Regions from separate parts of the Homo sapiens genome. Here all the other regions are linked to region 1. Evidence: promoter capture Hi-C in 16 types of primary human blood cells and fetal thymus (Javierre and others, 2016). All regions are on one chromosome and are shown on one strand. Each heading gives the region's core, a stretch centred on a gene start or on the middle of the fragment in contact. The rest is flanking DNA. Distances are from core to core; before and after follow the strand shown.

What was found. Contacts are between HindIII fragments. The CHiCAGO score rates a contact against its expected background, and 5 or more counts as called.
Region 2: a fragment that was not itself captured here is called in contact with the fragment with the promoter of KPNA5 in region 1 in 1 of 17 cell types (non-activated CD4 T cells); the score reaches 7.5 in non-activated CD4 T cells.
Region 3: a contact is called between a fragment that was not itself captured here and the fragment with the promoter of KPNA5 in region 1, in 2 of 17 cell types (total B cells and M0 macrophages). The highest score is 7.0, in total B cells.

Annotation. Positions count from the first base shown.
Region 1 is chr6:116,679,571-116,683,288 of GRCh38, forward strand. It overlaps KPNA5 (karyopherin subunit alpha 5), which reads left to right and starts at 1,641. Exons shown (of 14, transcript NM_001366306.2): 1 at 1,641-1,768. The coding sequence starts at 1,765. RefSeq lists enhancers at 1,238-2,221, 2,222-3,203. The HindIII fragment of the contact is 1,991 bases long and covers 1,157-3,147 here.
Region 2 is chr6:99,400,739-99,404,456 of GRCh38, forward strand. It overlaps PNISR (PNN interacting serine and arginine rich protein), which reads right to left. Exons shown (of 12, transcript NM_032870.4): 10 at 3,091-3,144; 11 at 1,802-1,972; 12 at 1-892. Among named protein-coding and RNA genes, the nearest start is that of COQ3, 8.4 kb to the left of the region's middle. RefSeq lists an enhancer at 1,257-2,456. The HindIII fragment of the contact is 434 bases long and covers 1,854-2,287 here.
Region 3 is chr6:99,511,473-99,515,190 of GRCh38, forward strand. The region is part of intron 1 of USP45 (ubiquitin specific peptidase 45); the gene reads right to left. Among named protein-coding and RNA genes, the nearest start is that of USP45, 2.1 kb to the right of the region's middle. RefSeq lists an enhancer at 2,959-3,718 and a silencer at 3,689-3,718. The HindIII fragment of the contact is 2,311 bases long and covers 842-3,152 here.

The DNA of each region.
Region 1 (3,718 bases), core at 391-2,890:
AATCCACCCCTTGTTTAACATATAATTAAGAAATAACTGGCTGGGCGCGGTGGCTCACGCCTGTAATCCCAGCACTTTGGGAGGCCGAGCCAGGAGGATCACCAGGTCAGTAGATTGAGACCATCCTGGCTAACACGGTGAAACCCTGTCTCTACTAAAAATACAATAAATTTCCAGCTACTCGGGAGGCTGAGGCAGGAGAATGGCGTGAACCCGGGAGGCGGAGCTTGCAGTGAGCCGAGATGGCGCCACTGCACTCCAGCCTGGGCGACAGAGCAAGACTCCGTGTCAAAACAAACAAACAACACACAAAAAAACTATATACTCAGTCCAGCAGCCCAAGCCACTGCTCTGCCTATGGAGTAGCCATTCTTTTGTTTCTTTACTTCTTTAATAAACTTGCTTTCACTTCACTATATGGACTCATGATTGGCAACGCTTTCTGGTAACACTGCCCAGGTTTCCTTTGTCAAGCGTGCCTTTCTCAGCCCTACATACCCACAGTTAAATAATCCCTTCTCTCCTGTTTATTTTTCAACTATTGAAAATAGCAAACATCTTAAAACAATTTGTCTTCATGTTTTTCCTCTTAAAAAATTGCAAACGTCTTCTGGGCAGGATTTATGTATTGTTTATCTTATTTATTCTCTTCCTATTGCATCTGGAACACAGTCTGTTTTCAATACCGTTTGTTGAACTCCAGGGTAGATTACAGGGCTGTGTATTATAATCTACAGTACTTTAACTGAAGTTACTCGTTTATTGGTGACTACATTGCTGTCAAAAATACACTCATGTGGCTGGGTGTGGTGGCTCATGCCTGTAATCCCAACACTTTGGGAGGCTGAGGCGGGCGGATCAGGAGGTCAAGAGATCAAGACCATCCTGGCCAACACGGTGAAACCTGGTCTCTACTAAAAATACAAAAATTAGCTGGGCGTGGTGGCGCATGCCTGTAGTCCCAGCTACTTGGGAGGCTGAGGCAGGAGAATCGCTTGAACCTGGGAGGCGGAGGTTGCAGTGAGCCGAGATCGCATCACTGCACTCCAGCCTGGTGACAGCGCCAGACTCCGTCTCAAAAAAAACCCCCCAAAAACAGAAAAACAAAAACAAAAAACCGCAGATGTTATAGAATATAAAATTATAAATGACAAAAAGCTTGAAATAAAACGAGCAGAGCATATAAAAGTTAATGAAGCTGAAGAAAACGTGAGCTTCTCCGTACACTTAACAAGGCTGCGATTTTTACCAACTTTTTTGCACTGTTGTAGCCCCAATAATGTATCTAAAATGGTACTTGACACAGTTTATATCCTTAAGAATGTATGCATGCACGCACGCGTGAAGAATGAATGAATGAGGGGTCGTCCCTTTGCACACACGGAGGTCTACGGGCCGCAGAGTACCTACAGCATGGCCACCGCAAGCGCAACTAAAATCCAGGGCTTGTCGCAGGCACAGGCTCCTCCTTCGGTGGGTGGGACGGCGGCGCGCACTTTCTCTACGCCCCACTGCTAGGATGTGCGGCCACCACTCCTCCTCCGCCGCCGCCGCCGCCGCCGCCGCCGCCGCCGCGTCGAGTGCAAGGGCTTCTGGGAGCCGAGCCTCGGGGTCTCGGAGAAGGGGCGCAGGTGGCCGCCATCTTGGATTGCGAACTGGGTCGCTACGCTTCACGCCAGGGGCGGAGTGGCGGCCCTTCTGTTACCCGCCACACACGTCGCCGCTGGGGACTGGGAAATCAGGGCATCGGAGAGTGCCACATTAATGGGTAAGTTGGAGTGAACACGGGCTAGGTTGGGGGAGCCTCGGTTTTGGTCCCTTTGGGAACTACTAGTTCCTGGGGCCACGGTTTTTATTTACCCCTTACTTTGCGAAGGTCTCTGGAACCTGGCGGTGCCGGGTGTTTCTCGTGTTTTCCCCAGGGCGACAGCGGTCGCGGGGGCGTGGCAGCCGGACCTTTCCCTTGCGGACGCGAAGGCGTGGTGAGTTCAGATTCTTTCAGCAGGTCCTCTGGAGTGATGGGCAGCTGGTCTCATCTTCGCCGCCCCGCCTCACCGTTTCTCGGTAGTTCTTTTCAGTTAATGGAATTGCCAAACGTTGCCACTCATACCTGGTACCCATCAGCTGTGTCCAGCAGCTTATGGAAATTCCACAGTGTCCAAAGAAGAGACAGGTTCCATCCCGAGGGCCTCCTAGCCTCGCCCTCTCCATCCGCCAGCCTCCCTCCTCCACCTGCGTGCAGGTGCCTCTAGTGCTCATTCCCGACGACAAGGCAAGCCTGGGTTCCACGCTTCTAATAGTCGGGCAGCTCCGTTCTAAGATGAAAACTTAGGTTTTCATCGATAATACATAGGAGATGGAAGTATTTGAAAGCTGTGAAATGACAGTGATATGTCTAAAGAATATGACATTGGCGGCGGGCGCGGTGGCTCACGCCTGTAATCCCAGCACTTTGGGAGGCGGAGGCGGGCGGATCACGAGGTCAGGAGATCGAGACCATCCTGGCTAACACGGTGAAACCTCGTCTCTACCAAAAATACAAAAAATACAAAATAAAATACAAAATAATAAATACAAAAAAAATACCAAAAATACAAAAAAAGGAAAAATTAGCCTGGCATGGTGGTGGGCGCCTGTAGTCCCAGCGACTCGGGAGGCTGAAGCAGGAGAACGGTGTGAACCCGGGCGGCGGAGCTTGCAGTGAGCCGAGAGCGCCATTGCACTCCAGCCCGGGCGACAGAGCGAGACTCTGTCTCAAAAAACAAACAAAAGAATATGACACTGGCATTTACTTTTGAGCTTTTTAGACATGTTTTTTAAAAAAGACAAAAACACTAATGATTTATCTCTCAATTACAACACCCAATAATGATGACTCATATTCTGTACAAAAGTGGTTTTCTTGGTAGGTCAGGAGCAACTCTCTCCCTCCGACCTAAGTACTGCTTGTTTGGTTGTGAGGGCTCTCTAGTTGGCACTTCCCCCGCTTTGTGCAGTCTTTTACTTTCACTAATGAGGCGCCCAGCCCCATGGAAATGAAGGCTTTACTGGCATAAGAAATAATGTCGATTGATATTAAAGAAAATCATAAGTTCAGATTCCAGTTATTTGCCCAACTTAAACATGGTTTTTCTAAGAGCCGTTGAAAGCTTATGAATGAAAAAAATTCCTCTATTCTGTAACTTTAAAGTGCTGGAATAACATTTCTAAATAAAAATATTTAATTTTTATGAGACCTCAGCCTTTGAAGTGCAGCCTTTAAATTTATTTTTCAGTGAACGAAACAATCCCATTGGATGGGGCCCCTTTAGAGATAATTTCCCTTGGTTTATTGTCCCCTTTAAAGCAACTGCAGTGAGGATGGATGCAGTGTTAAATCTGAAGCCGGAAGTCAGTACTATTGAAGAAAAAGGAACAAGTGATATCTGAGTTGTTGGTGCTGTATTTTATTTGGCTAAAATTTATGCTGAACAGTTACAATGTGGTTGCTTGGATTAATGGTCTCATAAGTAGCGCCTTTGTATGTGTGCGTGGTGGGGCACAAGGTGATCCAGTCAGATGTGGTAAGAAAATATTAGAACTTCTATTTGTTTACCTTTTAAAACTTTCATTCTTAAAAATTTCTGTTTTTTGTGAATTTTATGCTAGAGTAGTATATTAGAATAGTAATGCATGTATAGAAATAAATATATTGAGGATGAATGCACAAATGTATTTT
Region 2 (3,718 bases), core at 821-3,320, about 17 Mb before region 1:
CTATCCTGTCTAGAATCATGTCTTATGATTTTAACAGATATAGAACCACTCCTAGAAAATGTTCTTTCACTTTCTCGTTTCCTTTTTAATCTATCATCCTGACTACTGAACTTAAAATCTTTTTCTTCCCTTTTTTGTTTCTCTTTTCTTTTATCCTGTTCACGTTCCCTTTCTTTGTCTTTCTTTTTCCTATCTTTATCTATACTTCGACTCCTCTCCTTTTTCCTCTCTTGTTCTTTAGCCTCACCTTTATGCTTATGACTGTTCCCACTAAGATTTCCACGTTGATCATCAATTTTACGCCTATCTCGACTCCTACTGCGACTGGCACGATTGGTTCGTCTATCCCTTGAGCGACTTCTACTTCTACGTCTCTCTCGGGAAGGACTCCGATTTCGTCGTCTTTCTCTTTCAATGCTATTTCTATTAGATCTCCTTCTATCTCTAATCTTTACCCTAGCCCTATTGCTCTCTATTTTAATTCTGCGAGAATAGCTTCTACTCCTGCTACGTCTAGCTTTGATTGTTGGAGATCTACTCCTACTGTGTCTCTTTTTCCTTTTAGGAGAAGAAGACCGAGAAGAAGTACGACTACTACCTGAGCTAGAACTGTATGAAGAGCTAGAGACAGTACTACTAGTACTACTAGTTCTGCTATTGCTACTGGAACTACCACTACTAGAACTTCCCGACCTACTCCTTCCTTGTTTTTCTTTTTCTTTATGCTCTTTTTTTGGTTCTAAAACTGATGTGGTTTCATTTGGAGTTCTCTTCTTTTCATTAACCACATCACCGTCTGCTTCTCTTGCTTCTAGTAGTGATAAACTATTTTGCTCTTTATGGATAAATTCATTCATCTCTTTTGTAACCCTTTCTGTTTGCTGCTTTTCTTCTGAAACAGAAAAAGACAAAAACACTAAGAAAATGTTCATGTAAAATTCTCATACTACCAAATGTCAAGCTACCAGACTGTAACAATAGAACACCATTTTCAATAGAATTACGATGCAAGCCATGTAAGTAATTCAAAATTTTTTAGTAACCACATTAAAAAAGTAAAAAGAAACAGGTAAAATAACCCAATATACCAAAAATATTATCATTTCAACACATAATAAATTTAAAAAAATTCTGTTCTCTTTTTCAAGTAAAGTTTTTGAAATCTAGCATGTAATTTATACCCACAGCACATGCCTAGCCACATTTCAAGTTCTCTATAGCTTGTAGTTAGTTACGTTACCCTCCTGGACAGTGTAGCAAAATACAGTATCAAGATGTAGAGGTGGGTGTGAGGCAAGTAGGAAAAGACTTCCCTTTTGTCCAACTAAAGCAAAATTTTAAAGGTAAGTAAGTGGTTTATAGAGAAGTCTTAGCTGCTAACTCTTAATTACCTTAGATTTTTCAAAGAAGAAATTCTAAGTAAATTTTCTCTTTTGTTATTCCTAGTATTAGGTAAAGTATCTTAAGTAAAAAACTTCTAGGTTCTCTATTATCCTTATATATCCTAGCTACAAATTACTTTTCAATAGTCTTACAAATATATTTTTCCCATTTCAAAAGTCATCTTTTTCATTTCAAGACTTTTAGCAAGAAATAAAAATACCCTAAATAGCTTGGCTTATAGCCACTGCAATAAATGGCTCCTAAAACAACCAAACAAAAATTGTGACTTTAGTTTCAGTTATATCACATATTATTTATAATATAGCCTTTATTTTATCCTTTGATATTTTTAGGTTAGTTAAAAAATAAAAAGAAATACAAAACTGGACCAAAATTAAGTCTAAAAGGTATACTACACCTTCCATCTGTTTATCATGTAATAGCTGCTGTTCTTTTTCTTTTCTCCAAAAAGCTTCCTGTTTTTGCCGGATTCGATGCCGTAATTCTTCATCATCAGTGTCAGATGACTCAGATCCTCTGTCACTCCTCTCATCTTCACTGTCTCCTGATCCATAACCACCCAGTCCACCTGTGTGCATAAAGCTCAGTCTATCATATGAAAAAAATTATACTATGCACTAAAAACTTTTCAAGGTCTGAGAAGAAAGTTCATTTCTTTTTTCATTGCCTTTTCCCAGAAGAATACGCTTATTCGGGGTGGGGAGAAGTATACATTCAAACGCTTAAGGAGTTCACAGAACCTTCAGGCAAAGGTTACTTAATATCTTATTCTTTCTGGACTATTTCATATTTTTCTCACTGTAAAGGAATGATAATGGGTTTGCTGTACTGTCCATACTAACCAACAAAACTACTTAACAGGGCAGTAACAAAGCCACGCTAAAGCTTAATGATGACCCTGAAAGTATTTCTAAAATTAACTTTTATTGTTCAAAGTTTAGAAATCCCTAGAGCTAAGCAATTTTTCCCTAAAAAAATTAGAATACTATAATCTCCCTGGTACAGAAATATTATGGTGCTGAAAATACTCCCCACCCTGAAATGATCTAAATAACCATAACAAAACCACATGGGCATTTGGTTCTACCCACTTCTCTGGGTCCTCACAAAAATTAATTTGAAATGAAGATGTGGAAAAGGCAAATTCAAGCTTTTACAGCCTTGATAATATACCATGCAAATAGTAAATTATGAACACATCACTACTATTTTACTATGATAAGATAAACCCTTTCCTCTATATTAAAACTTGACTTGCCGCAACACAATCTATGTAAGTTATTAAAAGCATTAGTGGATAGGTTCTTCCCTAAGGCATGTATGCAATAATTCTGAAAGTGAGCTTAGATACTATCATGGCTAAATTATGAATTATTAAGTACAAACTATAGGTGTTCATATATAATTATATATATATAAAATGCATATATTGGAGCAATAAGGAAATCTTCCAATATAACCTGCCCCAATAAACTATGAATTAACCATCACATTTATAAATTTCTCACTGTGAATGCGTTAGTCAAAAAAATAGGCAAACCTTTTTAGACAGGATGACATAACCCTAAGACCTAGGTTTTTATAAACTGAGTAGGACTAATACAGTTTCAAAATAGAACACGCAGAGAGACAATGTATGTGTGATTTTTCCCTTTAGGCCCTCTCACAAATATGGAAAACACTTACCGAGTCCAGTGAGGGAAGCCAGTGCACTGGACTGTGCCAGCTGTTTTGCAGGAGCTTTGTATCACATCAACAACAGGAACAACATGTTAACACAAATAGCCACGATTTCATAGTCATGAGTCTATGGTATTGTTAAATCTACTACTATTGCTGCTTTTTGGGGAGAGAAGAAACATTAAAAACATAACATTCATTTTAAACCAGTATCATGTCTGGCTTTGAAATTATAACTCTGATGTGAGCTGAAATTGGTTTATAATGAGAAAAAATGTTGACAGGTATATCTGTATGTCTACTTCTGAGATTATGACATGTAACTTAATTTTTGTTTTCAATACATTTTTAAGGTGTTACTAAAAATCTAGGGGTAGGAAATCACTTGCTTCTGTAAGAGATAAGTGGTAAACTAAAAATTGTAGGTAGATAATTCAAAATTCATTAGTCAAAATAAACTGTATCAGAAGTCACACAACAATGCCATGTTATCTATTAAAAAAAATCAGGTGAAATAAACTGAACACCTGGAATTTTCCACAATACATTTTAGAGGAAAACAGCATGATTGCTAATTTGTACTCATGTAGGTCAGATAAAACAAAAATATTTGTATAGCTTTAATATGGTGTCT
Region 3 (3,718 bases), core at 747-3,246, about 17 Mb before region 1:
AGTCTCACTCTGATGGCCCAGGCTGGAGTGCAGTGGCCTGATTTCAGCTCACTGCAGCCTCAACCTCCCCAGGCTCAGGTGATACGCCCACCTCAGCCTCCCAAGTAGCTAGGACTACAGGTGCACACCACAATGCCCAGATAATTTTTTTGTATTTCTTAGTAGAGATGGGATTTCCCCATGTTGCCCAGGCTGGTCTCGAACTCCTGGGCTCAAGCAATCCACATGCCTTGGCTTCCCAAACTGCTGGGATTACAGGTATGAGCCATGGTGCCCCACCAATTCCACACCTATTAACAATTAGCTATGTTTGTTTTTATCTAAATATCAATATGTGTGTATAGAGAGACACATATATGTATGTGAGTGTGTGTATATATATATATATATATATATATATATATATATATATATACACATAGTTGAACTATTTGAAAGTTGTAGAGATCTTGACAGTTCATCCCTAAATACTTCAGCATGTATCTCTTAAAAATAAGCACATTCTCCTATATAACAATGTAATCATATCTAAGAAAATTAATAATTTTCTAATATCATCTCATATTCCATCATATTCTAATTTCCTTAGTTGACCCTAAATTGTCTTCTATAGCTGGTTTTTTGAAAAAGATTCAATCAAGGTTTGCACTTGATATTGGTTATGTCTCTTTAGTATCTTTTAATCTATTAACAGAACAGTTCTTCCAACCTGTTACTTGCCTAAGACTTTAGCTTTTTAAAGAGATCAGGCCAGTGCATGAGTCACCTTGAGGGTCTTGTTAAAATGAAAGTTCTGATGCAACAAGTCTGGCACAAGACCTGAGATTCTACCTACCTAAAAAGCTTCTAACTGAAGCCACTGCTGGGGGCCCATAGAATACTCTTTCGACAGCAAAGTTATATAATGTCTCACACTGAATTTGTCTCTTTCTTCATAGTGTTATTTACCTCTATCCCTTATATTTATTAAAAATTCAGTTAATTATCAAAGATTTTAGATACAAGCTAAGCATTTTTTAAAACTACTATATTTTGGAGTCTCTGTTAGAGTAGCTTGGCCTACCTTTTACTCTCCTGCCTGGTGGCTAAGCAACATCGCAATTTTCATGGTTGCTGACTTACTTCTCAATGATCAAGGTAATGAATCTTTCAATTCAGTACTAAATTCCAAATCTTGATTTATTCATTCCATAATTCACAATAAGGGAGCTTTCAAGTTTACCATTAAGTCCAACGGTCATCACTACTGAACTAAGTTGCAATAAATTAAGGGCTTCCGGGTTAGGAACATGTAAAAAGCCTCTGAGTTCCTTGAGCACTTCATCTCTACCTTCTCCCTCCAAACTTCCTCATCTACTCTCCCCTACAGTTCCACCTTATAAAATCACTAATTTAAGTATCCCCTTCTCTGACAGCAACTTCCCAGTTCTTCCAACTTGCCTGATCAGCCACTCATATTTTCCTATAGTGTCCAGGCTGACAAGAGGCTGCATCTCAACAAGTCCTTCCATGACCCTTACAGCAGGGCAGGGAGAAGTGGAAATGGCAAATGGAGAGCTGCTTCCTAAAGCAAGTCACATGGCACATTTAACTTCAAGCAGACATGGAGAGGGGTTGCCCATGTACAAAGAGTGCAGCATTACATGTACCCAAAAATAGGTGAACCGGAATACTTGTGCAGAGCCTTAAGGACTACATCACCTCTCTCGCAGAACCCAATCCTAGATGAACCCAATTAACCATTTTCTCCATGTCGGGAGAAAGTCTCTTAAGAAAGCAGACTAGGTCCATTATTATTCACTTCACCTTCTGGTCAACTTACATACTATCCACAGAGCCATTTCAAATCTTCTTCACTTTCCTCAAACCTCTAACCCCTCCAACTCCCAACTAACTTACCAAAAACTGATCTAGTCTTTTATAAGGGAAAAGAGACATAAGCAGACGGCAAATTTGATCTTTCTAACCCCAAATTTGCAAACCTACCTCCATCAATTTAAATTTGATGTCCTGAAAAGAGATAGGTATAACTAATAAAGTACAGGGAAAATGGCCTATGAGAAACTGATTATATTTTCTCGCTGTGGTACAGATAAGCTCTTGATAAAGATGAGCATTAACACAGATAATGCTAGCAAAATAATAAACAAAACCAGGCATTTGACCTACATACTGTAAGCAACCTGTGCCTTTTTTCAAAAACACTGACTCAAAATTAACTTGGTAATGTAGAGGCAATTTCTGATGATTTTTCTGCCATATGTAATGTCTAAACAGACAGAATCATTTGGTACAGTAACCCAGAATTCGGCAATTATTTATCTGTAGTTTTCCAATTTCCATTTGAGGCAAAAGGGCAAAATTAAAAGTCCAATTATTAGAGCTTCCAATACTTTTTATCATCAAAATTGTGTCTGGGCACTGGAGACTGGGAAGGATGGGAGTGGGGTGAGGAATGAGAAATTGCTTAATGGACACAATGTACATTATTCAGGTGATGGTTACACTAAAAGCCCAGTACCACTAGGAAATATATCCTCGTAAAAAAACGGCACTTATATCCCTTACCTTTATACAAATTTACAAAACTGTGGCTGAGGATCTCCGTGATCTCCCCCACATTTAGAGCTTTGATAGGATGCACGGGACTCAACATATAGTTGAATTCATGGCTGACATTTATTACACAATGCAGTATGGATATAAAGGCTCATCATAATAGAAAAAGACACAAGCGGAGTCTGGAGGAATCACGTGTAGGCTCCTTATGCGGTCTCCCTCCCAAGAGGGGTCAAACAAAACACATCCTTCCTCCATCAGTGAAAATGCAGCAGTTTCCGCGCAGGGAAGCCCATTAAAGACTTGGTGTCCCGGATTTTTACAGAAGCTGGTAATTTCGGCATAAAACATACTGTTCAGCACAAACCCAAAAATCTAAGTTCCCAGATGCCAAACAAGCACCAACATTGCAAGCAGTCCTTTCTAAGGATAGCAGTCTTAAGGCCTGCTATGTTAACTCTTTTTAGCACAAATATGTTCTGGCCATTTTTCTCATGCGGTTTTCCAAACAATAAACTTTACAGTTTTCAAGTCACCATCACTTAACACTTGTCTTTTCTCTAAAGTAGGATGTGCAACTAAGTTGTTTAGAAAGCTTTGTTTTTAAACAGGCTATGCAAAAAGCCCATATCCTTAAGAAAAAAAAATCCTTTTTTCCTACTCTTGGGCAATTATTTATGGGGGTTGGAAAGAGAAGAAAAGGTCACTATCTCCTTTTATATACCAAGCTCAAAAAGATGAGCAGCACTTATGGTTTTGCTGTGTATCACGCTCAGTTCTAAGCACTTCACAAATATTAACCCACGCAACCCTCACAACCACCTTAGGAGATAAGTTGCTATTATTTTCCGCATTTTACACTTGAAACTGAGAAAGAGAAGTGAAGTGACTTGCAGAGGTCCCAAAGCCAGTAAGCGGTGGATGGAGATGCGGACCCAAGCAGTCCGGCCCCGGAGCTCCTAATACACGACGCTTCCAGAAAAGTCATTAGACAGGCTTCCTCCGGTCACCAACACACACACACCCCGAGGATGTGAAGAGAAATGCGCCGCGATGAGGCGGACGGAAAGGTGTGGGGCCGCCGCGCGCCCAGGTCACCAGGGGACTCGGGCCCCTCCCAGGCCAGCCCCGACGCCCAGGGCTTCTCCCGCAGCCGCAT